Linked DNA regions of Homo sapiens: region 2 is linked to region 1. Evidence: promoter capture Hi-C in 16 types of primary human blood cells and fetal thymus (Javierre and others, 2016). All regions are on one chromosome and are shown on one strand. The core of a region is centred on a gene start or on the middle of the fragment in contact, and the rest is flanking DNA. Distances in the headings are between cores, read along the strand shown.

Region 1 (4,043 bases), core at 1-2,500:
GTGAGCGCGCCCACCTGCGCCTCTCCGCGCGGCCCGCCCTCCCCGGCGCCGGGCTCCTCTCCGCGCCCCTGTCGGCGCGGAACCCTGGCCTCGTCCGCGGCCCAGCTCCCTGGAGCCTCGCATCAGCGGGGGCGCCCCCGCGAGCTGCGCTCTCCCCGGCCGGAGCGCTCCTCCTCCAGCCCCCAGCCCGCAGGGTACTTTGCCCTCGGAGCGAAGGAGGCTCCAGAACTGGTAGAGCCGGGCCATCGGGCTGGGCACCTCCCCGCGGCGCCCGCAGCGCGGAGTCCACTGACCGGCTCAAAGGTCTGGGAATCTCGGGGCGGCCGCGAGCCGGCCTCGGGGACTGGGGTGGGGGCGGTGCTGGGAACAGAGGCTAGGCCTGGGCCCAAGGGGAAGGCAGCCGGGGATGGAGCGGACAGACCGCTGGTGCTCTTGATAGATTCTCGCAGCACTTGCGTCCCCAGGGCAGCCCCAGGATGGGTGCTGGGCAGGGTGGTGCCCAGCCTGGCACCGCGGCTTCCTGCCTGGATTGGCTCCTGGCTCCAGAGCTAGAGGCTCAGGAAATCCCACAGGGGTCTGTCTGCAAGGGCACTTCCTTGCCCAGCGGAGGGGCTGTGGATGGGAGGCCTGTCACCCCGGCTGTCTGTCGGGCAGCATCAGGAATCTGGGGGTGGGTGTGTCCAGCTTGACAGATGAACCCTGGCCTCCTTGCCCTGGCAGCCGGCCCCTGGGGGAGGTGGGGAGCCCGGTCTTGCCCGTGTGATCCACTTTGCCAAGAACGAGGTGGGCAGCTAGGAGGCCCATGTGAAGACTCGGCCTCACCCCACCAGTCCTTCACCTGGCCAGTGACTTACACAGTCTGTACTGGTGCCAGCCTGTTCCTTGACCCGTCACTCCTGCTTCCTGAGCCCTGCTCTCCCTAGGCCACTCACCAGCCCTCCCCCAGAGTGGAGAGGAAGTACCGTGTGCTGTGGGTTTTGGGGACAGGAAGCAAGCGCTAGTGGGACTGAGCCCTGATGGTGGAGGAGGGGAGACTGAGGGGGTGCTGGCATCCCCTCCACTTGCCAGCCCCTGCCCCCCATGCTCCAGCAAGCCCCCTGCCTGGCAGCCTGGGCAGCCCCCTCCTGGGAGTCGCTCCCTGGGCTGAAGACTAAGGAAGGGAGAACCCAGAAGCATGGCTTCCCAGGGTGGGGGGAAGTGAAACCGGGCTGAGGGAGGGAGTTAGCCACTTCCTCTACCCACCCCAAAGCCCCTGAGTAGCTGCTCCGGGAGCTGTGGTGCCCTCTCCTTCTCCCTTTGGCTCCTCTCCTGCTGCCTTACAGTGCCCCCAGAGCCGGCTAGGGGCATGGACTTCACCTCCTGGTCCTCTCTTCCTCAGGTATGGCGTTGACGGTGGATGTGGCCGGGCCAGCGCCCTGGGGCTTCCGTATCACAGGGGGCAGGGATTTCCACACGCCCATCATGGTGACTAAGGTAAGGATGGTGGCTCAAAGAGATGAGAAGGTCCTGCCAGAAGCGAGGTCGGCCCTGTTCACCCCACTCTGCACAGATGGCTTGCTTTTTCTGTTCTGGAGCTAGGGATCTGCTGCTGCCTGGCGTGCTGGCTGTAAGGGAGCCGTGGCCCTTTGCCACGGGGATGTGGTGGCCACTTCAGGAACAGACCTTGGGAGTGAAAGGGAGCTGGGACCAGGACAGGGCCGGCTCTTGCCTCCCCAGTTGCTATCCCCACACTTGCAGGCAGCCATTTGGGGTGATTACTAGAACAAGAGCCCCGGAGTTCTTGGCAGTCTCCTCTTGACCTGGGCCCAGGCTGGGAACATTCACAGGAGGGCTGTGCAGGCAGCCACCTGCAAGGTGCGATTTGCACGGGCAAGGCTCTCTATCCAAAAGTATTTCCAAGCACAGTTCCTGAAATTCTGCCACTGCACATTCTTTGGGAGGCCCATTAGAATGCCAGTGTGGGGTGGGGGCTGCCACCTGCGCTCCTGGAGGGGATGGCTGATCAGCTGGGTGTCATGAGCAGGCAGAGGGACATGCAGGAGGGTGCAGGCCGGCCTGGGTCAAGCCAGCCTCTGTGTTTCTTGGGTAGCAGAGTGGGAAGTCCCTTCTCCAGCTGGGCCACGGTCTGAGCATGCCAGCTCCTCATCCCTACAGGTGGCCGAGCGGGGCAAAGCCAAGGACGCTGACCTCCGGCCTGGAGACATAATCGTGGCCATCAACGGGGAAAGCGCGGAGGGCATGCTGCATGCCGAGGCCCAGAGCAAGATCCGCCAGAGCCCCTCGCCCCTGCGGCTGCAGCTGGACCGGTAGGGCCTCCCGCTCTGCAGAGCCTGTGGCATTCCCCCTCCTCCACCACCCCACGTATTGAGCAGCCCTTGCTCCTGCCCATGGGCTAGAGCTCAGCCCTAAAGCGGCCTTCTTGGGCCCTCTCCACACCTTGGTGAGAAGGTCCTGGGCTCTGCTTCCTGCAGCAGGGTGGGCTGAGGGGTGTTCCCATGCCTGGTTGGGTAAAGGTGGGCGCCAGGCTGGGCGTGCAGTCACAGGCTGGGCAGGGCGAGCTGGCACCAGCCACCTTGAAGCCCGGGTTTGACTGGTTCCCAAGAGTGTGCAGGGCACAGGGCGTGGGCATGAAGTGGGTTGAAGAGGGGAACCTTCTGGGAAAGGTATGCCCGAGGCTGCATCCCCAGGACTCCTGCTTCCAACAGGGCATGGCCTTTGTTTAGTTCCCAGCTGGAAGTGAGGACTTGGGGGGCTCATTCCTCATAGAGGCTGTCTGTTCCTCCCCATCACTGAAGGCAGATGCCCGATCCTGGGTTACTCCTAGGGTTTTGAGCCTATAAGCCAAGGTGGGGCCAGGGTGGGGCCTGGAGGCCAAGCTATAGGGGGAACAGGTGGCTCCCTGGGGTGGGGCATTGCAGTGAGTCACAGATCGGGAATGCCAGGAGATCCCCGAGCCAGGAGAGCCCTCTGCACGGGCCTAGAACCTGAGTCAGACACCTCTTGCATCCTGGCCACCCCCACATTGTCCTGCTCTCTTCAGCCCTACCAAGCCCCTCCTTCTCCAACTGCCCTGCCCTGTGGTGTGGCAGAAGCCGGCTCCCTTCATGTCATTCAGGTCCCTGGGTGTTTGCAGGAGCGGGACCCCAAGAAGGAGGGTAGAGAGCACCTCATGGCATCTGGGAATGGGGCAGAAAGCTACAGGAGGCTGAGGGTCTGGCAGCGGAAGGGCAGGAGCCTCGGACTGTCTCTTCCTCTGGGGTTCTCTGGAGGGACCAGGGCTCGGGGGAGGTAGGCCTGGGCTGTAAGTCAGGCCTCTGGTTCTGCACCAGGCAAGCCCAGACTCCAGTCTCTTAATTTTTTTTTTTTTTTTTTTTTTGAGACAGAGTCTCGCTCTGTTGCCAGGCTGGAGTGCAGTAGCGTGATCTCGGCTCACTGCCACCTCTGCCTCCCGGGTTCAAGAGAGTCTCCTGACTCAGCCTCCTGAGTACCTGGGACTACAGGCGCGTGCCACCACGCCCAGCTAATTTTTGTATTTTTAGTAGAGATGGGGTTTCACCACGTTGGCCAGGATGGTCTCGATCTCCTGACCTCGTGATCCACTTGCCTCAGCCTCCCAAAGTGCTGGGATTACAGGTATTACACCGCGCCCGGCCCAGTCTCCTTACTTTTGCTGACGTGATGCCCACCCCCCCCCCCGCCCCCATCTCCCGCCTCCTACCCTCCCAGGTGACCTCTCTGGTATTCAGAAGCCCTGGGGCAGGAAGCAGGGCTCCAGGCTGGAGCCAGAGACTGAGCTCTCCTCACCCTGATCCCATGGCTCTCCCAGGAAGCGGAGGGTCCTGTTGCCCTACATCTCTAGAGGCAGCCTCACGGCCAGGAATGTGTGGCAAGATGGGACGAGGCAGGCTGTCCCTCAGCCCAGACTTCAGTTACCTCCCATTCAGGGCTCCAGCTGGGTTCCACTTTGGAAGAGGGTACCCAGGGAGCTGGGAGGGCGTGCCCCTCTCGCTGGTGGGGAGCTGGGCCTACTTGTCTGGAAGGAG
Region 2 (4,062 bases), core at 1,282-3,781, 110 kb before region 1:
GTTTTGATTTGCATTTCTCTGATGACCAGTGATGATGAGCATTTTTGCATATGTCTGTTGGCTGCATAAATGTCTTCTTTTGAGAAGTGTCTGTTCATATCCTTTGCCCACTTTCTGATGGGGTTGTTTTTTTCTTGTAAATTTGTTTAAGTTCTTTGTAGATTCTGGATATTAGCCCTTTGTCAGATGGGTAGATTGCAAAAATTTTTTCTGTTTTTGCTTTTTGAGATGGAGTCTCACTCTGTTGTCCAGGCTGACGACTGTAGCTGACTGCAGCCTCAACCTATTGGGTTCCAGAGATCCTTCTGTGTCAGCCTCCTGAGTAGCTGGGAGTACAGGCAGATGCCACCACACCTGGATAATTTAAAAAAAAAATTTTGTAGAGATGGGGGTCTCACCATGCTGCCCAGGCTGGTTTCGAACTCTTGGCTTCAAGCAGTCTCCCCAACTTGGATTCCCAAAGTGCTGGGATTACAGGAGTGAGTCACCATGCCTGGCTGGTTGCAGCCAGTTTTGGAAAATAAAATGTGCTACAGACATTGTAAGGGCAAAATATTTAACAATAACTGAGATTTCTAAAAATTGCAGATTGGCTAAATGTTAATAAATTATGATCTAAGTAAATTATATCTACCTAGGAGAAAATAAAAAAAAATTTATGGTATTTTAAGGTATTTATTTATGTACTTATGCATTGAGATATTTGCCATCAAAATTTTTACTAGTGCGTATAAGTACCTAACACATAGTAGCAATTCAATAAAATTATTTGAATGAATTAATTGAGGATACTTTTCGATCATAGTTTTTATGGTGAGAGTTTTCATTTTGTTCTGTCTTATTTTTATGTGTATTTTAGTTAGATGTTCGCTTAGTCTATTCAAGATGTGTTTTTTGTTTGTTTGTTTGTTTTGAGACAGAGCATTGCTCTGTCGCCCAGGTTGGAGTTTCAGTGGTGCGATCTCAGCTCACTGCAACCTCCACTTCCTGGGTTCAAGTGATTCTCCTGCTTCAGCCTCCTGAGGCAAGCACGCGCCACCACACCCGGCTAATTTTTTATTTTTAGTAGAGATAGGGTTTCACCATGTTGGTCAGGCTGGTTTTGAACTCGACCTTATGATCCACCTGCCTCCGCCTCCCAATGTTCTGGGATTACAGGTGTGAGCCACCGCCCCCGGCCTGTTCAAGATGTTATAACAAAATGCCTTAGACTGGGTAATTTGTGAACAACAGAAATTTATTTCTTACAGTCCTAGAGGCTGGGAAGTCCAAGAGTCAGCTTGCCAGCAGATTGTGTGTCTGGTGAGGGCCTCTTCCTTATAAGTGGCACCTTCTATGTGTCCTCACGTGGCAGAAGGGACAAACAAGCTCCTTTGGACCTCTTTTGTAATGGCACAAATGCCATTCATGAGGGCAGAGTCCTTACGACCTAATAATTTCCCAGATATTCCACGTCTTAATACCACCATGTTGGGGATTAGGTTTTACCTATGAATTTTTGGAACATTCAAATCATAGCAGCTGTTAAGAAATGTTGAATCAGAAGTTTCTAGTCATTCTTTTTTTTGTTTTTTTGAGGCAGAGTCTTGCTCTGTCGCCCAGGCTGGAGTGCAGTGGTGCAATCTCGGCTCACTGCAACCTCTGCCTCCCGGGTTCAAGTGACTACCCTGTCTCAGCCTCCCGAGTAGCTGGGATTACAGGCGCCCGCTACCACGCCCAGCTAACTTTTGTATTTTTGGTAGAGGCAAGAGTGTCACCATGTTGGCCAGGCTGATCTCAAACTCCTGACCTCAGGTGATCTGCCTACCTTGGCCTCCCGAAGTGCTGTGATTACAGGCGTGAGCCACTGCACCTGGCCAGAAGTTGCTAGTCATTCTAAACTGGAAGCTTGACATAATATTTTGAATCAAGCATTTTAAAAATGTCTGCTTTTCATAAATAGTTTATTTTTACATATTTATCCCTTTCATTTAGGAAAGAAGATTCATGAGTTTTTTTTTTAATCAGCTGGCAAATTAGAGAAAATATTTATACAGCTTCTAATAGGCATCTCAAATTATTTTGAAACATTGGGAATATATCTTTTGTAATGTTTTGCTTGTAATAATTGAATAGATTTTCTCATTTGGTAATAACTTGGAAAATACAAAGTGGCCCATTTAAAATGGACTCTGATTTAAAGGTACTGTTGGAGGCATTGGTGACGGGCCATTTTTCCTTTTAAATAGAGAAAGTATGACAATCTATTTTCAAGAAACTGCCATAGCAATATTTTTAGTCTCATATGCTCGCACAGAATTTTGTCACTCCCCACCAGTAGGTGGAATCTATTTCCACTCTTCTTGAACCTGGGCAGGCTTGTGACTGTTCAACCAATTGAATATGGTGGAAATAATGTGATGGGATTTCTGAGGCCATGATATAAATAGGATACAACTGATCCAGCAATCGCACTACTGAGTATCTACCCAAAGGAAAATAAATCAACATGTTTATTGCAGTACTATTCACAACAGCAAAGATACAGAATCAGCGTTGAGTATCTATTAGTGGATGAATGGATAAAGAAAATATGGTATATATACACAATGGAATATTGTTCAACCATAAAAAAACAAAACAAAATAATGTCACTTACAGCAACATGGATGGAACTGAAGGTCATTATCTTAAGTTAAATAAGCTAGGCACAAAAAGACAAATATCATATATTCTCACTTATATGTGGGAGCTAAAAATTTGAACACATGGAGGTAGAGAATGGAAAATAGATAAGAGAGACTGGGAAGGGTGAGTGGGGGAAAGGGGAAGGATGAAGAGAAGTGAGTTAAAGGGTACAAACATACATTAAGATAGGAGTAGATTCAATGTTTGATAGCAGAGCAGGATGACTATACCTAACAAAAATGTATTGTACCTGGTGATGAACATCCTGAAGACCCTGGCTTAATACTATGCATAATATACATGTAACATAATTCCTCATGTAATCTGTAAATTTGCACAAATAAAAAGAGGGAAAAAAAAAAGCTACAGCTTCTTCCTGGCTCTCTCTTTGTCTTGGGATGCTTGTTGTTGGAACTAAGTCATACGAAGAGGCCACATGTGGGTATTCTCTTCAAAAACCTGAGCTAAGCTGCAGCCAACAGCCAGTATTAACCACAGTATGAGTGAGAAAGCTTTCAGGTAATTCCAGCCCCAGGTTGTCGAGTATCCTGCTGAGGCCCCAGAAGTTGCGGAGCAGAGACAAGCCAGCCCCACTGTGCCCTGTCTGAATTTATGGTCCACAGAACCTGTGATAGATAATAAGTGATTATTGCCTTAAGCCACTAAGTTTTGGGGTAATTTGTTACATGGCAGTAGATAATTCATATAATTTCTAGAAACTTATAGGGAAATAAAGATTTGCTCAAAGACATATATATATATATATATGTGATATATAAATGATCCATGTATATATATATGATATGGGTGATATATATAAAATAAATATGGGTGATATATATATATACACACACACACACACACACACACACATACATATATATATGTTCTCTGCTGTATCATTTATTTATGTTTTCTTTTTTTTAGAGGCAGAATCTCACTCTGTCACCCAGGCTAGAGTACAGTGGCTCAGTCATAGGTCACTGCAGCCTTGAACTCCTGGGCTCAAGCGTTCCTCCTGCCATAGCCTCCCAAAGCACTGGGATTATAGGTGTGAGCCACGATGCCTGGCCCTGCAGTATAATTTACAATTTTTTGAAATAGTCTAGCTATCCAACAATAAGAAAATGTTTAAATAAATTATCATAAGCACACTATTTTCCTAAGTAAAATTTCTACATTTTCTATATTCAAAAACAAAGTTTAAAGAATTGGTATATAGTCAATTATGTCATAATGATAAACCTAATTGAATTATATATTTACATAAATAAAGATCATTAAGAACAAAAAAGGCTTTACATCTGATAAAGGACATGTACCCAGAACATACAAGAACTTTCGTCAGTCAATAAGAAAAGATACTAAATGTTTTAAATGGACAAAAGAATTGAA

Evidence for each region. The method cuts DNA at HindIII sites, captures the fragments that hold promoters and counts their contacts. A CHiCAGO score of 5 or more calls a contact.
Region 2: a fragment that was not itself captured here is called in contact with the fragment with the promoter of PDLIM2 in region 1 in 4 of 17 cell types (total CD8 T cells, naive CD4 T cells, naive CD8 T cells and 1 more); the score reaches 6.7 in total CD8 T cells.

Annotation. Positions count from the first base shown.
Region 1 is chr8:22,579,225-22,583,267 of GRCh38, forward strand. It overlaps PDLIM2 (PDZ and LIM domain 2), which reads left to right and starts at 1,251. Exons shown (of 9, transcript NM_001368120.1): 1 at 1,251-1,473; 2 at 2,155-2,306. The coding sequence starts at 1,381. RefSeq lists silencers at 38-107, 208-297, 308-467, 1,198-1,287, 2,852-3,146 and an enhancer at 2,485-3,177. The HindIII fragment of the contact is 20,077 bases long and covers 1-4,043 here.
Region 2 is chr8:22,466,547-22,470,608 of GRCh38, forward strand. The region is part of intron 1 of PPP3CC (protein phosphatase 3 catalytic subunit gamma); the gene reads left to right. Among named protein-coding and RNA genes, the nearest start is that of PPP3CC, 28 kb to the left of the region's middle. The HindIII fragment of the contact is 1,292 bases long and covers 1,886-3,177 here.